Regions from separate parts of the Homo sapiens genome. Here region 2 is linked to region 1. Evidence: promoter capture Hi-C in 16 types of primary human blood cells and fetal thymus (Javierre and others, 2016). All regions are on one chromosome and are shown on one strand. Each heading gives the region's core, a stretch centred on a gene start or on the middle of the fragment in contact. The rest is flanking DNA. Distances are from core to core; before and after follow the strand shown. Region 1 holds the start of CEP120 (centrosomal protein 120). Region 2 overlaps MARCHF3 (membrane associated ring-CH-type finger 3).

Evidence for each region. Contacts are between HindIII fragments. The CHiCAGO score rates a contact against its expected background, and 5 or more counts as called.
Region 2: a contact is called between a fragment that was not itself captured here and the fragment with the promoter of CEP120 in region 1, in 1 of 17 cell types (neutrophils). The highest score is 6.4, in neutrophils.

What each region holds. Positions count from the first base shown.
Region 1 is chr5:123,422,125-123,426,492 of GRCh38, forward strand. CEP120 (centrosomal protein 120) reads right to left here and starts at 1,279. Exons shown (of 20, transcript NM_001375405.1): 1 at 826-1,279. The coding sequence starts at 874. RefSeq lists an enhancer at 545-1,490 and a silencer at 820-979. The HindIII fragment of the contact is 3,797 bases long and covers 772-4,368 here.
Region 2 is chr5:127,013,058-127,017,378 of GRCh38, forward strand. All of the region lies in intron 1 of MARCHF3 (membrane associated ring-CH-type finger 3), which reads right to left. Among named protein-coding and RNA genes, the nearest start is that of MARCHF3, 15 kb to the right of the region's middle. The HindIII fragment of the contact is 4,406 bases long and covers 291-4,321 here.

The sequences.
Region 1 (4,368 bases), core at 29-2,528:
TTTAATTAAGCAAGGCAAAACGTGTCTTGCTTTTCCATACTTTAAGTGCTCCCTGCTCTTCTCTTTGCCTGGAATGCCCTTCCTTTTTTCACCTGACAAATTCCTAATCATCTGTAGGACCCCAAAAAATGCCACCTCCTCTAGTGAAACTTCCGCAGTTTCCTTAGACAGAGGTGGTCATTCATTAGGGTCTTCCACATCCTGATGAATTATTTGCTGACACACTCTCCTTGCTACATCCTTAGCTTTTTAGAATCAGGACTGTTTCATTCTTACATTCCCAGCACAGTGTCTGACACTCAATGAGTCCCAATAAACCAATGTCATTCATCCAAAACACACCTTTTAAGGAATGTATAATACACCCTCTTAAGAACTGTAGTCCCCTGAGTCCTCCAGCAAGACGTGTAAAGGGAATTGCCTCCGGAACACTTCTGGAATCGCAGGAAGCCTGTATTCAAGTCAAAGCTCTTACAAGTGCTATTATTGGGAACCGCTGATCAGAACGCGCTTCTCAGGACCACGTTCAGCTCATATATAAAAGCCATCGACGTGCTGCTTTGGATGAAAATCGTTTTCTCTAGATTCTCTGGGGCTACGGCTAGTCACGCTAAATATCACTTATCCCTAATAGCGCTCATATCCCTGGAGAGATTTTTAAATCAATTGCCTAACAGACCTCACTACGTACAACTTTGAACAAGTCTGTGGGGACCACAAAAGCACAGATGACAGGGTTCTTAAGGTTAACAAGGCCTCGGTCCCACACTAAGCTTTTAAAACTCGGGAGGCAGCAGTTGCAAAAGCAAGCCTCAGGCTGCTCACCTTCTAGGATGGACACGACGATGAGCAATTGGTCGGATTTGGAGACCATGGTTGCGGTGAGCGGTCCGGGGGCGAAGGCGGCTGGGGGGAAGTGAGGTCCAGTTGAGTCGCGGGTAATCCGGGACCCCCGGCGGGACCCCCACTGCCCGCCCCCGGTCCCTGATGCCCGGACCCCGCTCCGCAGCCAGGTCCCACCGCCGTCTGCTGCAGCGCGCCCGGCTCCTCTGCCTCGGGCCGCCAGCCCAGATCCTAACTGTGCCCCGACTCAAGGAAAAAGCCACGCTGCAGCCCTGCCAGTCTGCAAGCAGAGACAAGCCCGCCACCCGAGGACCTTTTGCCGCCTGCGTAGCCGCTTTTCAAACGCCCGGGCGGCCGCAGCGGCCGCCGCCGCGCCCAGCTTCCGCCTAGCAACCAGGCCCGCAGGCCCAGTGCCCAGGGGAGGTTGGAGGACAACGGGTGATAGAGACAGAGCAGTCAAGGCTAGAACGCCCGTCAGCGAGCTTCGCCTCCCGCCCTTTTACGCTCTGTTCCAGAGCCCTAAGGAGGACGCCTTCATTACCTCACAGCGCCCTCTGCTAGCCGGACGAGGAGAGGCGGGCGACTTGGTGTGGGACCAGCTGCGCAAGCGCACTACTGCTGTAAACGCTTCCTGAAGCTGCGTAGCCTTTAAGGAGCGTGAGTGTAGCGTATTACCTGCTTTATGCTTCAGCCACAACCTGAGAGTTATATTAGTGGGGATTAAAAAAACAAAAAAACCTAGCTTAGTTGACGTACCCAGTGTCAACACTGCTTAAAAAATTAAATCACAAAAAAATAATGACTTAAATCTAAACTCTAAAGTCCCTAAATCGTGCTCACGCGGCACCTCAAATTTCCGACCTTTGAAAACAAGTAGCTTCAATACGGTAATTACTGTACTTGTTAAAGCTGACGTAAACTCCCCGAGAATTTCCTGTCCCTTAGAAATTACCCCTAAAACAAAAACACTGTCACGTGGGCAATGAAATATAAAGGTTCTTCCACCCCCGATGACAAAGTTATTAGCAAACTCAAAACCAAAAATAAACAAGGCATTGAGGTGCTGTCTGCCGACCCTTTCCCCTTAACGTCTCCCAAATTCAGATTTAAGAAACGGTTCAAGACTTGTAAAGGGAACGGCCTCCTAAACACTACTCAAATTGCAAGAAGCATGTATTCAAGTCAAAGGCAAAGTTCTTTTGGAGGTTATCTAGCTTGAAACTTAAATAACCGAATTGGTTGGAGCGATCGTGGACACTATTAAGTTTGGGAAAAATTCTGCTTCGGAAAACAAAAGTAAATCATAATAAAATAAAGCTGCAGAGATAGCACTAGGTAGTGGACATAAGTGCGGCTTCTCCTATTACTTTCTGGTTTTGTAAATTGAGAAGTTGTTTTGAGAGCAAATATAATATCTCGCTGTTTTCTTTTTCTTCTATTGCTTCCTTGTTTTGGAAATTTAGAAGTTATTTTGAGAGCAAATAATATAATATCACTATTGTTTTCTTCTTCCTCTTCTTTATTCTTCCTTCTTTGCTTTCTGCCCAAAAGAAAAGGAGGAATATGTAGAGATTGGACTAATTACTTCTAAGGCCCTTTCAGGTCCTATCACAGGCATTCTTAAAATGAAGCACTATTCAATGTAAAATCAAAGTAATGATCTACTTTGGATTCATCATTGAACAATGCATTATTTTTGTGGAAGATGTCAAACATACTTTAAAGAAAGCAGAATGATATAATGAACCCCCAGTTACCCAGACCCCAGCTTCAACGATTATCAACTTAAGACCAATCATCTTCATCTGTTGTGTTATTTTTAAAGAAATCCCCAACATCACATCAATTCATCTTTTTGGATACGTACTTCTAAAAGATGAAGACTTTTTGGCCAGGTGTGGTAGTGGCTCACATCTGTAATCCCAGCACTTTGGGAGGCTGAGGTGGGCGGATCACTTGAGTCAGGAGTTCGAGACCAACCTGGCCAACATAGCAGAACTCCGTCTCTACTAAAAATACAAAAATTAGCCAGACGTGGTAGCGCAAGCCAGAAATCCCAGCTACTTGGGAGGCTGAAGCACGAGAAGGCTGAGGCACGAGAATCGCTTGAAATCATGAGGCAGAGGTTGCAGTGAGCCGGTATCATGCCACAGCGCTCCAGCCTGGGCCACAGAGAAAGACTCAGTCTCAAAAAAAAAAAAAAAAAAAAAGATAACGACTTCTTAAAGAATCTTAAAATATTAAGTATTTAACCACAATCCCATTATTACACTTAATAATTAACAAAAATTTCTTAATCCCATTAAATATATACTGTTCAAATTTCTCTGATTGTCTAATAATTTGTTTGCAGTCGGTTTTTTCAAATCAGGATCCAAACAAGTTCCAAAATACAATGGTTGGTATGTCTCTTGTCTTTTTTAATGTATATGGTTAGGCTTTGTGCCCCCACCAAAATCTCATTTTGAATTGTAATCCCCACAACCCCCAAGTGTCAAGGAAGGGACCAGATGGAGGTAATTGAATCATGGGGGTGGTTTCCTCCATGCTATTCTCCTGATAGTCAGTGAGTTCTCAGGAGATCTGACGGTTTTATTAAGCGCTCTTCCCCCTTTACTCACTCACTCTTCTCCTTCTTGCTGCCTTGTGAGGAAGGTGCCTTGCTTCCCCTTTGCCTTCTGCCATGACCATAAGTTTCCTGAGGCCTCCCTAGCCATGCTGAACTATGAGTCAATTAAACCTCTTTCCTTTTGAAATTACCCAGTCTTGGGCAGTTCTTTATAGTAGTATGAAAACGGACTAATGGAGGTACCCAATCCTTCTTTTTTTTTTCTTGAAATTCTTTATTGAAGAAACTGGTCGTGTCTGCAGAGTTTACCACAGTCTGAATTTTGTTGGTATAATACCAATGTTGTGGTTTAACATATCCTCTGTTGAGAAGTCTAATAAATATGTACACATTAACAACACTTAAAGATTAGGAAACAAATTAACCACAAGCGAAGTATAATGTTATCAGTGGTGCAAGACAGTACTTAGCATTATAGACAAAGAGAGGCCCAAGTACCTCTGATGGAATGAGTACCCCAGAAGATCAGAGTTTGGGACCTACCTTTGCTATTTGCATGTCAGGTGACCTTAAGCAAATCACTTTCCCTCTTTGAGCCTCAGTTTCAGCTATAAAACGATAGTATGCATGGTTCTTTAGTGCAGGACTTAAATGTAGTAAATGCCACTTAGTTACTATTTTTTATATGAACAATCTCAGACTTTAAGTAGTAGCTGTGAAAAGAGCCAGGAACTGTCCATCAGCATACCTTGTTGTTTTGCTTTAGGATATCTAGCAGGGCTTCACACCTAGATTATAAACCATTACTGTATGCCATAGAATAGTTTTAGGTCATAAAAAATCTGACAGATTATTAAAATTAACAAAGAAACTTTTTCATGTAGTAAATTTCACATGATTCCCTTTATTTGGATTTTCCTCCTGAACAACATCATTTCTAAAATCACTTTCAGCAC
Region 2 (4,321 bases), core at 1,244-3,743, 3.6 Mb after region 1:
AGAAAGCAGTTGCTTTCTAGTGGAAGTGAATCATAATGGACCTTTCAAATCACAGTGTTCACACATGGAAAAGCACATGTTCCACTTTTCCTCTGCCAAAGAAGCCTCACAGCCACTCCCCAAAATACTTGAGAAATATTCCAGCAATGTGTGTGTATCCATCATGGACTCTTTCTCATTGTTACTGCTTTTGCTATACATTTTGTTATAACTTCATGCTGTTTTTCACCCACATAGCTTAGAAAGCAACAACAAGAACAACAATAAAATTAAAAGGAAAGGAAAAGAAAAGCTTCCGTTAAGACAGGGCTAAATCTACTGTATATGAAAACTGCTGTCAAAGGCAGTTGACAAGAGCTTACATAGACCATGTACCCATTTAACTTAAATAATAATGATACATTGACCCAGCCCTTTAATTACTGGTCTCATTTTCACCTGGATCCTGATGAGTTCTCACAATTATACACCCAAATCTACCCAAGTTATTAAGTGAGGAGGAAAGGGATCCCTGCCAGGATCCGTAAGAGGGAAGTACGATGCAGACAACATCATAACATCCTCTTCCTTTCTTTTTCTGACTTGTCTCTGATGCATAACATAAACACAATCTGGATGAATTAGATTAAAAATTACTCTCACATAGAGACCAATGTAACAAAACAGAAAACCCAGAAATTAATGAATCCATCTATATAAGGCCAACTGATTTTTGACAAAGGTGCCAAGAACATCCATTGGGGAAAAAACAGTTTCTTCAATAAATGGTGCTAAAAGCAATGGATATCCATATGCAGAAGAATGAAACTAGATCCTACCTCTGCCCCTATATAAAAATCTACTCAAAATGGATTAAAGGCCTAATTGTAAGACCTGAAGCTATAAAACAACTGGAAGAAAACATAGAGGAAATGCTTCAGGACATTGGTCTGAGAAAAGATTTTATGATTAAGAACTCAAAAATACAGGCAACTAATGCAAAAATAAGTAAATGGGATTACATAAAACTAAAATTCTTCTGCACAGCAAAGAAAAAAATTAACCAAGTGAACCAATAACCTGAAGAATAGAATATTTGCAAAGCATTCATCTGATAAGGGATTAATATCCAGAATATACAGAGAACTCAAACAACTCAATAGCAAAAAATCAAATAATCCAATTTAAAAATGAGCCAACAGGTATATGGAAAAATGCTCAGCATCGCTGATAGAGAAATGCAAATAAAAACCACAATGAGATAACTCACCCCAGATACGATGGCTACTATCAAAAAGACAATCTTATACACTGCTGGTGGTAATGTAAACTAGTACAGCCATTATCAACAGCAGTATAGAGATTCCTCAAAAAACTAAAAACAGAACTACTGTACGATCCAGCAATCCCACAATTGGGAATTTATCCAAAGGAAAGCAAGTTAATATACTGAAGAGATATCTGCAGCCCCATGTTTATTACAGCACTATTCACAATAGCCAAAATATGGAATCAACCTAAGTGTCCATCAATGGATGAATGGATTAAAAAATGTGGTATATATACACAATGGAATACTATCCAGCCTTAAAAAAGAATGAAATTCTGTAATTTTACAGCAACATGGATGGAAATGGAGGACATTATGTTAAGTAAAATAAGCCAGGAACAGAAAGCTAAACACCATATGTTCTCACTCATAACAGAAGCTAAAACACTTGATCTCACAGAAGTAAAAAGCAGAACAGCGATTGCTAGAGGTTAGAAAGGGTAGGAGGAAGTTGGGGATAGGCAGAAATTGGTTAAAGGATATAAAATTCCAGCTATGTAGGTGGAACAAGTTCTAGTTTTATAGCACTGTAGTGTTTTATAGCACTGCAGAATGACTATAGTTAACAATGATATATTATATAGTTTCAGATAGCTACAAAAGATATATTAAATGTTCCCAACACAAAGAAATGATAAATGTTTGAGATGATAGATATGATAATTACCCTGATCTGATCACTACACATTGTATGTACTGAAACATCACTATGTACCCCATAAATATGTACAATTATTATATGTCAGTTAAAAATAAATAAATTTGAGAAATTACTTTCAAATACGGATGTATTTTACTCACCATAAAATTCAGATATGCTTTTGAAAATATGACATGGGAAGTTTAGCTCAGAAGTATATTTCATAGTAAGTTACTCTAACAAGTTTTTCTGTAGAGGGAACACCAGAGGACTAGAAAACAATGTCAAGTAGGTTTAGGCTGACACCATGTGAAGAGACAACAGAGCTTTTGAGATCACCTGGGGAAAGGTCGAGGGAAGATGAGCAGGGAGGAGGGGAAAGTGAAGTTCTTGCCAACGTTAAATGATTATTTATTCAGTTGAATGGGAAAGTCACACTGCAAGCCCCAGAAAATAATGCCTCACAATTTAGTTGGCAAATGACACCACCCACAGAATGACAGGGAAAGAAAAAAACACAAAAGCACACACTTTAGTGGAGAAGGTCCCAAGCTGAAAGCCATAGAAAAGGACTTTGGAGGAAAGCATTCTGCTTCATTTCTGTCAACCCCTTCCAAACTAAAATCTGAGGTAAAGCTATTTTTCAACTTGTACCTTCATGATTACCTAGAATCACTAAGAACATAGTTCTAAGAATAAATCATTTTAGTGGATACAGCAGTACATCCCCCCACTTATTTGTGGGTTCACTTTCTGCAGTTACAGTTACCCTTGGTCAACCATGGCCCGAAAATATAAAATGGAAAATTCCAGAAACAAAGAATTCATAAGTTTTAAACTGTGCACCGTTCTGATGATGAAATCTCATGCTGTCCCACTCCATCCTACTTGGACATGCATCCTCTGCTTGTGCAGCACGTCTATGCTGTCTACATTCCCTGCCTGTCAGTCACTTAGTAGCCCTCTGCATTATCAGATCAACTGTTGCCAGAATCGAAGGAACCCTTACTTTACTTAATAATGGCCCTAAGAGTAGTGATGCTGGCATATTGTTATAATTGTTCTACTTTTATTATTAGTTATTGTTGTTAATCTCTACTGTGCCTAATTTATAAATTAAACTTTACCATAAGTATATACATGTAGGAAAAAAACATAGTACATATAGCTTTTATTACTAACCATAGTTTCAGGTATCCACTGTGGGACTTAGAACACATTCCCTGCAGACAAGGGTGAACTACTGTTATGAGTTCAAATGAAAAATTATGTGTATTGTACACAAAAAAATTTATTTTTTAAATGAATTTGTACTGCACAATCTACAGAATGGGAGAAAATTTTTGCAATCTACCCATCTGACAAAGGACTAATATCCAGAATCTACAAAGAACTTAAACAAATTTACAAGAAAAAAACAACCTCATCAAAAAGTGGGCAAAGGATATGAACAGATACTTCTCAAAAGAAGACATTTATGTAGCCAACAGACACATGAAAAAATGTTCATCATCACTGGTCATCAGAGAAATGCAATCAAAACCACAATGAGATACCATCTCATGCCAGTTAGAATGGAGATCATTAAAAAGGCAGGAAACAACAGATGCTGGAGAGGATGTGGAGAAATAGGAATGCTTTTACACTGTTGGTGGGAGTGTAAATTAATTCAACCACTGTGGAAGACAGTGTGGCGATTTCTCAAGGATCTAGAACTAGAAATACCATTTGACCCAGTGATCCCATTATTGGGTATATACCCAAAGGATTATAAATCATGCTACTAAGACACATGAACACCTATATGTATTGCGGCACTATTCACAATAGCAAATAGAAAGGCACTATTCACCAACCCAAATGTCCATCAATGATAGACTGGATTAAGAAAATGTGGCACATATACACCATGGAATACTATGCAGCCATAAAAAAGGATGAGTTCATGTCCTTTGCAGGGACATGGGTGAAGCTGGAAACCACCATTCTCAGCAAACTATCACAAGGATAGAAAACCAAACACCGCATGTTCTCACTCTTAGGTGTGAATTGAACAATGAGAACACTTGGACGCAGGGAGGGGAACATCACGCACTGGGGCCTGTCAGGTGGTGGGGGGCTGGGGAGGGATAGCATTAGGAGAAATACCTAATGTAAATGATGAGTTGATGGGTGCAGCAAACCAACATGGCACTTGTATACCTATGTAACAAACCTGCACGTTGTGCACATGTACCCTAGAACTTAAAGTATGATAAAAAAAAATGAATTATCCCAGTTTGCAATTTAGTCTTATAAGTATCTTCATTTTTAGAAGATATGTCAAATTAAAAATGGTGTCCTTAAAACTGCAATCAATTAAAAAAACTAAA